2 separate regions of the Homo sapiens genome follow, and region 1 is linked to region 2. Evidence: promoter capture Hi-C in 16 types of primary human blood cells and fetal thymus (Javierre and others, 2016). All regions are on one chromosome and are shown on one strand. The core of a region is centred on a gene start or on the middle of the fragment in contact, and the rest is flanking DNA. Distances in the headings are between cores, read along the strand shown. Region 1 overlaps RNF139-DT (RNF139 divergent transcript). Region 2 holds the start of FBXO32 (F-box protein 32).

Evidence for each region. Contacts are between HindIII fragments. The CHiCAGO score rates a contact against its expected background, and 5 or more counts as called.
Region 1: a fragment that was not itself captured here is called in contact with the fragment with the promoter of FBXO32 in region 2 in 1 of 17 cell types (total CD8 T cells); the score reaches 5.1 in total CD8 T cells.

The regions. Positions count from the first base shown.
Region 1 is chr8:124,463,439-124,467,667 of GRCh38, forward strand. It overlaps RNF139-DT (RNF139 divergent transcript), which reads right to left. Exons shown (of 2, transcript NR_108047.1): 2 at 1-4,220. Among named protein-coding and RNA genes, the nearest start is that of RNF139-DT, 9.0 kb to the right of the region's middle. The HindIII fragment of the contact is 2,374 bases long and covers 865-3,238 here.
Region 2 is chr8:123,538,331-123,542,883 of GRCh38, forward strand. FBXO32 (F-box protein 32) reads right to left here and starts at 2,876. Exons shown (of 9, transcript NM_058229.4): 1 at 2,569-2,876. The coding sequence starts at 2,684. RefSeq lists silencers at 2,773-2,862, 2,913-3,022, 3,113-3,402. The HindIII fragment of the contact is 4,426 bases long and covers 1-4,214 here.

The sequences.
Region 1 (4,229 bases), core at 802-3,301, 920 kb after region 2:
TTGTTTTCTTTAATCCTTTCTGATGGTTCTTTGCCAAGCCTTTGGTTATTTCCTCTCATGCATGTACTAATCATTATTTAGCTTAATACTTCAGGAGAATGGTCAGCAGATCTCTGGAGTTCTCTCTGTGTCACTCTGTCCTCTCTAGTATTCTACCCTGTGAACTCTAGTTGCCTTGGGCTCTCAGGACTCCCACTTATATCTCCTCACCTCACAGAGTCTTCTGGGTTCCCTCTCCCCATGCCAAAGCCTTTCTTCAGGCAGCAAGTTGGAGCAATTGTATTGCTCACCTTGTTTGCATTCCATCTCTCATGGATTACTATCCTTCACTGCCTATGTCCAATGCCTTCAGGGCCATTGTTTCATATATTTTGCCCATTTAAAAAAAGTATTTGGAAGTTTATAATTACTTTCTACTTAAATTTACTAGCTGTCACAATCATTACTGAAGAAATTCACTCTTGCAATAATATACATATGTACTTCATTTGACACAGAATTTCAACATGTAAAGCATATAAGAATTTCTTGCCACAATCATGTTTAGAATGCTTACCTATAAGGTGAATATTAAAATATTAGTAAATACAATGACTTTTTTCAGATTAGACATGATAAATAACCTGCAAGGTTACTTGACCATTGGTCACACAGAATTTCAGAGAGATCAGAACCAGTGTCAAAATAGGTATTTGTCTTTTTGGCTTTTTAAAGGTCAAGGTTGAATCAAGGGTAAACGAAAATATTGCATGAACATGAAGCTAAAATTGAATTTTATGTAACACAACAACAGCACTGGGTAAATAGAGATAGGTGGATAGACTGTCTCAGTTTCTTTTTAATAATTTTTATTTTTTTAATCGAAGCTTTACACATAATTTAAAAACTCAAAGGTAACAAAACCTAATATGAAAAAAGCCCACCATGATGAAGCAGCTGTTCTGCAGGTGTTTTGCCCTCATTCTGTGTGTCTACTTTCAATTCCAAATGGGCTTATATGACCAAAGAGATGCAGGATCTAACCAACATGTACCAACAGGAACCATGAGCATGTGTATGGAACTGGGTCCTGAGAGTGCTGGACAAGAATTAAGTTTGTGTTTATATAGGACAGCAGTACCCATTTATAGTATTGGCTTAGGGTTATGTTAACTCTTCCACACTGCGTCATAATCCGAAGAGATCTAGACCATCTAAACATCCCACATAATGTCACAATGACCTACCACATTGATGACATCATGCTAGCTGGATAAGGTGAATAATAAGCAGCTAGCATACTGTACACTGGAGGATGGGAAATAATCCTTAAGACCCAGCAAGCTGTTACCTCAGTGAAACTTTTAGGGCCCAGTAGGCTGCTTGAATGCCAAGATATCCCCTTCACAGTAAAGGACAAATTATTGCATCTCACCCACTCATTTCACCAAAATTATTCTGCCACCAGGGAAGCACACCAAGCTGTGTAGGCTTCTGTGGGAATTCAGAAGTTGGCAGTACTGTTCTGACTCGTAAACTGGGTGAGATAGAAATCTGCCAGTTTTCAGTGGGATCCATAGCATGTAAAAGTTCTCTAGCAGGTATGGTGTATTTAGCCCTGTTGCATGGACCAATTCAGGATATTCTATGGGACAAGAGTAAATGTGATAAGAAGCCATGAAAGTTGAAGGCAAGCTCCAATGGGAGAATCACAAGGTCGACTCCTGGCATTCTGTGGCAAGGCTGGGCCATCTGCAGTGCAAAATCCCAAAAACAACTCTATCCATGCTAATGTGCCTTGGTAAGAACTGATTATGGACATCAAGTGACCATGTAGCCAGAGAGGCCCATCATGAGCTGGGCAAAGGCAGGTGGTCAGGCTCCCATGTCATATCTGATTCTTTACCAATGTCCCTTCCTCAGCTCACAATTATGGCCACTTGGGAGGCTCTCATGTCTAGCTTATGGAGGACAAAAAAGCCTGAGCTGAATTCACTGAGGTTTCTTGGAATATAGGTTCAAAACAAAAATGGACTGCTACTGCCCTACAGCCCCACACAGGACTGGCCTTAAAAGACAGCAGTAAGGAGAACCCTCCCAAAAGGCATAATGTGGGGCAGTATTCCTGGTCATCAACTGTGTGTGGAAAGAAAGTGTCTTGAACTAAGAACATATTTTCATGGCAAATAAGTTGGCTAGTTGATCAGGGGTCTGGAATAAGACTGGTATATCAGGGACAAGAAGTCTGGAGAAGCAGAGGAGAAATATATCAGATATGGCACATAAGGAGGGCTTTTTGTATTGTATAACACAATCTTTATCTGCCAGAGACAATCCAACATGTAAGCAGCATTAAATAACCAAGTAGACAGATTTAGCCAGTAAACTTCAGCAGCTACAACCATCGGCTCCACCGCCCCCTCCCTCCGCCCCCAGGAATGGCACAGGGGGCTTATGACAAAGTAGTCATCTTGCAGGAATGCAAGTGAGCAAGAAGCCAATAGATAGCCTCCACTTATCCAATAGCCACTCCCCAGGCTGGGCGCGGTGGCTCCTGTCTGTAATCCCAGCACTTTGGGAGGCTGAGGTGGGCGGATCACCTGAGGTCTGGAGTTTGAGACCAGCCTGACCAACATGGAGAAACCCCGTCTCTACTAAAAATACAAAATTAGCTGGCCGTGGTGGCGCATGCCTGTAATCCCAGCTACTCACGAGGCTGAGGCAGGAGAATCCCTTGAACCCAGGAGGCAGAGGTTGCAGTGAGCCGAGATGGCGCCACGGCACTCCAGCCTGGGCAACCAGTGAAACTCCGTCTCAAACAAAACAAAACAACAACAACAACAACAACAAAATAGCCACTCCCCAGTGTTAAACACCAAGTTCCTGATACAGCACCAACCCTCAAGGATACCAAACAGCTACTTGGGCAGCAAATTGATTTATGTTGGATTCCTTCCATCCTAGAATGGGCAGTGATTCTCCTTGACTAGAAACTGCCCATCTGCATGTATGAGTTTGACTTCCTTGCCTATAAGTTGTTGGCCAGCTCTACTACTCACAGGTTTACAGGTATTTGATCCATCAACATGTATCCTGTGTAATATTGCCTTTGATTTAGGGATGCACTTTACAGCAAAGGAGGTGTATCAGCAGGTACATAACCATGAGATCCACTAGTCCTATCACATACTATATAACCGAGAAAATGCGGGTCTGATGGAATGATGAAAAACCCTTTTGAAGGTGAAACTGAAGCAAAAGCTTGAAGATAATAGCCTGTGAAAATGGAATGACCTTGTCCACCAGGGTACAGTATATACTCTAAATCAACACTCATTTTATGGTGCTGTGTCTCATATATACATAACATGCATGTTTGGGAATGAAAGGATATAAATAGAATTCCTACTGTGTAGTAGGCTGAATAATGGCCCCCAAATATGTTCAGATCCTAATCCTGGATTCTATGAATATTTTACCTTCAAGATAAAAGAGACTTTGTGGATATGACTAAGTTAATGATCTCAAGATACAGAGATTATCCTGGACTATCCAATAGGCCCAATATAATCATAAAGATTCTTACAAGAGAGAGGCAGATTTGCCTAGTAGATGCAATGACTTAAGCAGGAGGATGGGGTGATATGAGTAAGGGGCCATGAGCCAAGAAATGTAGGTAGCCTCTAGAAATTGAAAAAGGCAAGGAAACAGACTTTTTCTTGAAGACTTCAGGAAAAACAGTCCAGTTGATATCTTGATTTTAGGCTTCCAGAACTGTAAGAAAATAAATTTGTGTTGTTTGAAACCACTAAGTTCGTAGTGTCATAGCAGTGATAGGAAATTAATATAACCACATACTCTCACTCCCAGTGACCCAAGTGGGGAGTTTGGACTTCTCATCCCCGCAACTTTGTGAATTAGAAGTCCTGATTCCCAAGAGAGGAACCTTTTCATCAAGAGACACAATAATAGATCCTTTAAACTTTAACTTGCTGAGGTTTCCCGGTTCAAGGTCCTTGTGCTAGGAGACCAGCAGGCAAGGAAGAGTCACCATGTTAGTTGGGGTAAATGAATCCAATCATCAGGAGGAAATAGCGTTATTGCTACACGATGATGGCAGGAAGGAATATACCTGTAGTTTACACTCAAGACCATATAGTGGTCTCTTGATATGTCCCAATATCAAGTAAAGTGGACAACTTCCAAAACAGCAGGGTAAACATCTCCAAATACTGGCTTCTCTATAAAAG
Region 2 (4,553 bases), core at 1,626-4,125:
TTGTTTGGGCCGTTTGCAGAATGGTCTGTGGAATTAGAGAAGTCAGTCTACCATGTCTCTGTAGTTCTCTGTTTCACGGTCCCTCCCCGCTTAAGGGCCTGCCTTTTGTTTTCTCATAACAGGAGAGGCATTCAGCTTCACCTGTGCAGGCAGGCACGCAGTCCAAACCTGACATCACGGGGAAACATCACCAAGACCAAAAACAGTGAGGATATTTGAGATGACAAACCCAGACCACAGAAGGCCAACTGCTTTTAAGAAGTTGCAGGCTTCTCATGCTAAGCAGGGAAGGGATTGTTTACAGTTGCTGGAAAAAAAAATACCCTGCAAACAAACAGCCAGCTGCTTTGCTAGGAGGCTACCAAATGATTCCTAAACGCTGACTCAAAGGACCACAGGTGGTCAGTATATCAATGACTATTTGCGGTAATGATGATGGATGTGACAGCTCCAGCTCAGGTGTGAAATGGGAAGAAAAAGAGGCTCATGAACAGGACACGGGAGGGGGGCTGTGCAGGAAACCACCTGATTCCAGCCCAGTCTAAACTTTTGTGGTAAGTTAAGACCATCTTCAGGTCTTCCATACTGTGAAGACAGAGATACCACTATTTCTAAAGGAGAGTGACACCAGTTTCTCTCCTGATGCCGGTATAGGGTATTTTAAAACAAATTTTAAATTTTTATTTATTTTTAGAGACAGGGTCTCGCTCTGTGGCCCAGGCTGGAGCGCAGTGGCACAGTCATGACTCGCTGCAGCCTTGAACTTCTGAGCACAAGCCATCCTCCCACCTCAGCCTCCCGAGTAGGGTAAGTATTAATACGACCCTACATTTTAAATCTTCTGCTGAACTCAATCATCTGTTCTCCACTGAGGAGCATCCTGCAATTATATTTGGGTGAGCAGCTCTAACATGACTCTTCAGACCCTTTCGGCACTTTTCTAGAAAGAACCTGAACTTGTATACAGAAATAAAGTACCAACATATTAGATCATTGTCCTTAGGAACAAGGAGGAAGGAAGGAAGGTTCCCATTTTGTTGAGGGAGAATAATTTAGGCATAATTGGTAACTCCAGTCGATAAAAGACATAGTCTGTCAATAGCAGTTGGTCTTACTTTCCCGTAAATAAATTACTTGATTTTACGTAAATAAGATTTCCTTATGGTGGTCCCTAAACTCCCCTGGGACAGCCTCCAAGTAACTCCAACGTAAATGGTTATATGCTGGTGGTTAATACGCTCAAGTCTCTCCGGACAGACCCCCAGAATTAAATAATGTCTTTCTTTACATTGTGAGACAATGGGAATTTGATGCATTACAAATCACAAACAAATGGGAGGCACGGGAGTTCAAGTTGCCAAAATAACCACATTTTCTTGATAGTTTTCTCAAAATTTATTGCCAATGCTTCATCCAAGCAACGACTGGTAAATCTCAGTAAGCGGGAACCTGGCCCAGAAACAGAATTCTCCATTGAAGTCAATTTAAGGGTGCAGGGGCCCATGGTTTTAACCAAAGGTGGCAGGAAAAGGCTCCCAAGGGTGACTCTGGCTGCACCAGTCCATTCTGGAATCACTTTCATCGCCCCCGCTCACCGGGCTAAATGCTGAGAGTCTCTGAAAGTCAACTGTCGAGGTCAGGGGCTGAGAAATTCCAGGCTACCTTGCGTACTAGCCGGCGCTGGCATCGTTAGCCAAGCTGAGCAGGGAGCGCAGCGGACCTCAGGTTTCCCGCCAGACCACAGAGCTCAGGTGAGGCCTCGAATCCAGAGGCTCACCGGGGCCAGGCAGGCTTTTCGCAGCTGACAGGCACCCCTGGAAACGGAGTGCACTCTATACAAAGCAGACCGACCGAGAGGGCCACCGAGGAAACAGGTGCAAGAGCCCTGTCCTCCCAGAAGCAGAGCTCTTGTGGGATTCATCCCCTGCCCCCTTCCCTCCTTTGCACCTCTGCAGCCCCAAGCCTCCACCGCTCGCAAGTCCGCCCAGTAAGCGGCTGCCCCAGGGACCATCTGGCCGTCCCTTCCTGGTTACTCATCCTCCCGGCCACTTCGTGGTTGCCCGTGCCTGGGCAGGGCCTGGAAGCGCTCCAGGCGGGACCTTCGTCGGATCCCGTCACCTGTCGCGTCCACAGCGCTTGGGCGCTGGGAGCCGGGCCACCCCGCGGTGAAGGGGCTCAGCCCACCCGCCCGCGCCCCCACATGGGCAAAGTGCGCGACTCCGGTGTCCTTAAAGCAGGGACCACTAAAGCTGTGTGATTAAGTTTGAGCGAACGTTTGGGGACACGATCCGCGAATGTCATCAGACTCTCAGAGGGACCAGGTGTTCTGTAAGGAGTCGTGTCCACTTGGAGACACTGACCTTGAACAATAAGAGAAACCGAATTCCCTGTCTCCGGTGGTCCGAAGACCTCTGCAGAAATCGGGCCCCGTAGTCCCACCCTCCGGGTCAGGGTCTCCCTCCTCAGCCCGCTCCAGCCCTGCCTGCCCCTCATTCGCCGTCCCTGCGCCCCCCAGACCAGCCCGGGTCAGTTTCGCGGGGGCTGGAAGTTGGTAGCGGGTCCCCTCACCTGCTGAGGTCGCTCACGAAACTGCCGCTCTTCTCATCCAGGAAGCGCTTCCAGCCGTCGGCCGTCTTCACCCAGTTCTGCCCGGGGGACCGCCAGTCCTGCCCGAGGAATGGCATGGCACCGCGAGCGGACTAGACGGATGGGGAGACGGGGCCGGCCTGGTGGGCTCGGGGACGTGCCACCCGGGGCGGATGCTCGGGGTGCAGGGGCCCGCGACGGGGGCGGCGGGGCGGCGGGAACGGCGCGGGGCACCCTGCGGGGTGGCGGGCGCGGAGAGGATCTCAAGCGTTGCAGGCTCCGGGAGTGCTGCGCGGCAGTAGCTGCCGCAGTATTTATCCCCGCAGCCGGCCGCAGCTCTTTGTTGCCGGAAGAGCCGCCCGCTCTTAGCCCGGCCCCCCGGCCCGGAGGCCACGTGGCTTTGTTTATGGGCTCGGCTTGTTTTCCGAGGCGCCTGCGGCTCACGCTCCCCTCCCGGTTGCACAACCGCGCCGGTGGAAACTTGAAGCGGTGCTGCCGGGCCGGGTACCCCGCCGCCCCTGGCACCTCCGCGCGCCCTCCCCGCCCCCAGGACACCGTTGTCCCAGAGCGAGGCCCGGCGCTTGGAAAGATGCGCCCCGGTCTCCTGCAGCTCCCGGGCTGACGGGGTGCAGGGAGGGGGCCGGAGGGGCGTCTGGGTCCCTGCGGGGTGGGCGTGAGGAGCAGGGCCAGCCCCCCTCCTGCCCCCGAGCTATCAGGATCGACCTCCGCAGCCAGATCAGCCTCCCGGGCCGTCCGCAGAGCTGGGGCCGGCACCGCGCCCGCCGGGCGGGGAGTAGGGGGCGCAGCCTCCTGACCTCGCTCACTGCCCCAACCCCGCCCTAGCGCGCGGGGGTTGGAGCGGGGAGGAGGGACAGCCTCCCAGCCCTCCGGGCCCCTTAGCTGTCACTAACCAGTCCTCCTTCAGACCTGCCCCTGGGGCAGCAAAGGAGGGGAAGGAGAGGAAGCCCTGGGAGGTATCTGGCTCCCGCAGGTTGGGAGTGGAGAAAAAGAACAGCGCCCCTATCCTACCCGAACCCTCTAAGAGACGGGTTAAATGATGTACCCAGGGCCAATGCTACAGTACAATCTGAAACTACCCTGTTTGCTTTTACTTTTTGCTGTTGTTACAACAATCTACCCCTGTCTGCAGTGGGAACTCCATGAGAGCTGGTCTGTCTTGTTCCGGAGGCATTTCAGCCCCTGCACCCTGCCAGGCCCAGTGCAGGCCTTCAACAACTATTTGTGTGAATAAGTGAATGGATACGGGAGGCTGCTGGCATGAGGGTGGCTTCTTGCCCTTCATCACCTCTAGTTATGATGCTTTACAGCCTGGTCTATTTGGCAATTAGTTTGCACAGGACAGCAGCAGCAGAGTAAAAATCCCATACTCAAGCATTAGCTTCAAACTTCATTCTTCCATTCTTCTTTCTCTGCAGCCATCAATATCATCTAGTCCACTGACTCGGTGTAATCTTTAAGGCTCAGGCAAAGAAATTGTGTGTGCCCTATGAGGCTACATGTTGGACTGGGAAGACGTTTTTAATAAAGTTTGTTTTCAAGAAGCCAGAGCTTTCTGATTTAGATTTCCCACCGTAAATAATTTATTAGTGTAGTAATAGTAAAAAAAAAGCTTGTAAAAACATTGAAGAAGTCCCAAACAAATGTTAAACACTGTGATGGTGCTAACAAATGAGGCAGTGTTGGGTCTGGTCTCTGTTGGAGGGAATTGGTATCTGCATAATTAAGGGATGTGATTATTATTATTATTATTTTTGAGACAGGGTCTCATTGTGTCACTCAGGCTAGAGTGAGTGATCATGGCTCACTGTAGCCTCAGCCTCCCCAGCTCAAGCCATCCTCCCACCTCGGCCCCAGTCTCCAGTAGCTGAGACTACAGGCACTCACCACTGCACCAGGCTAATTTTTTATATTTTTTGTAGAGATAGGGTTTTGCTATCTTGCCCAGG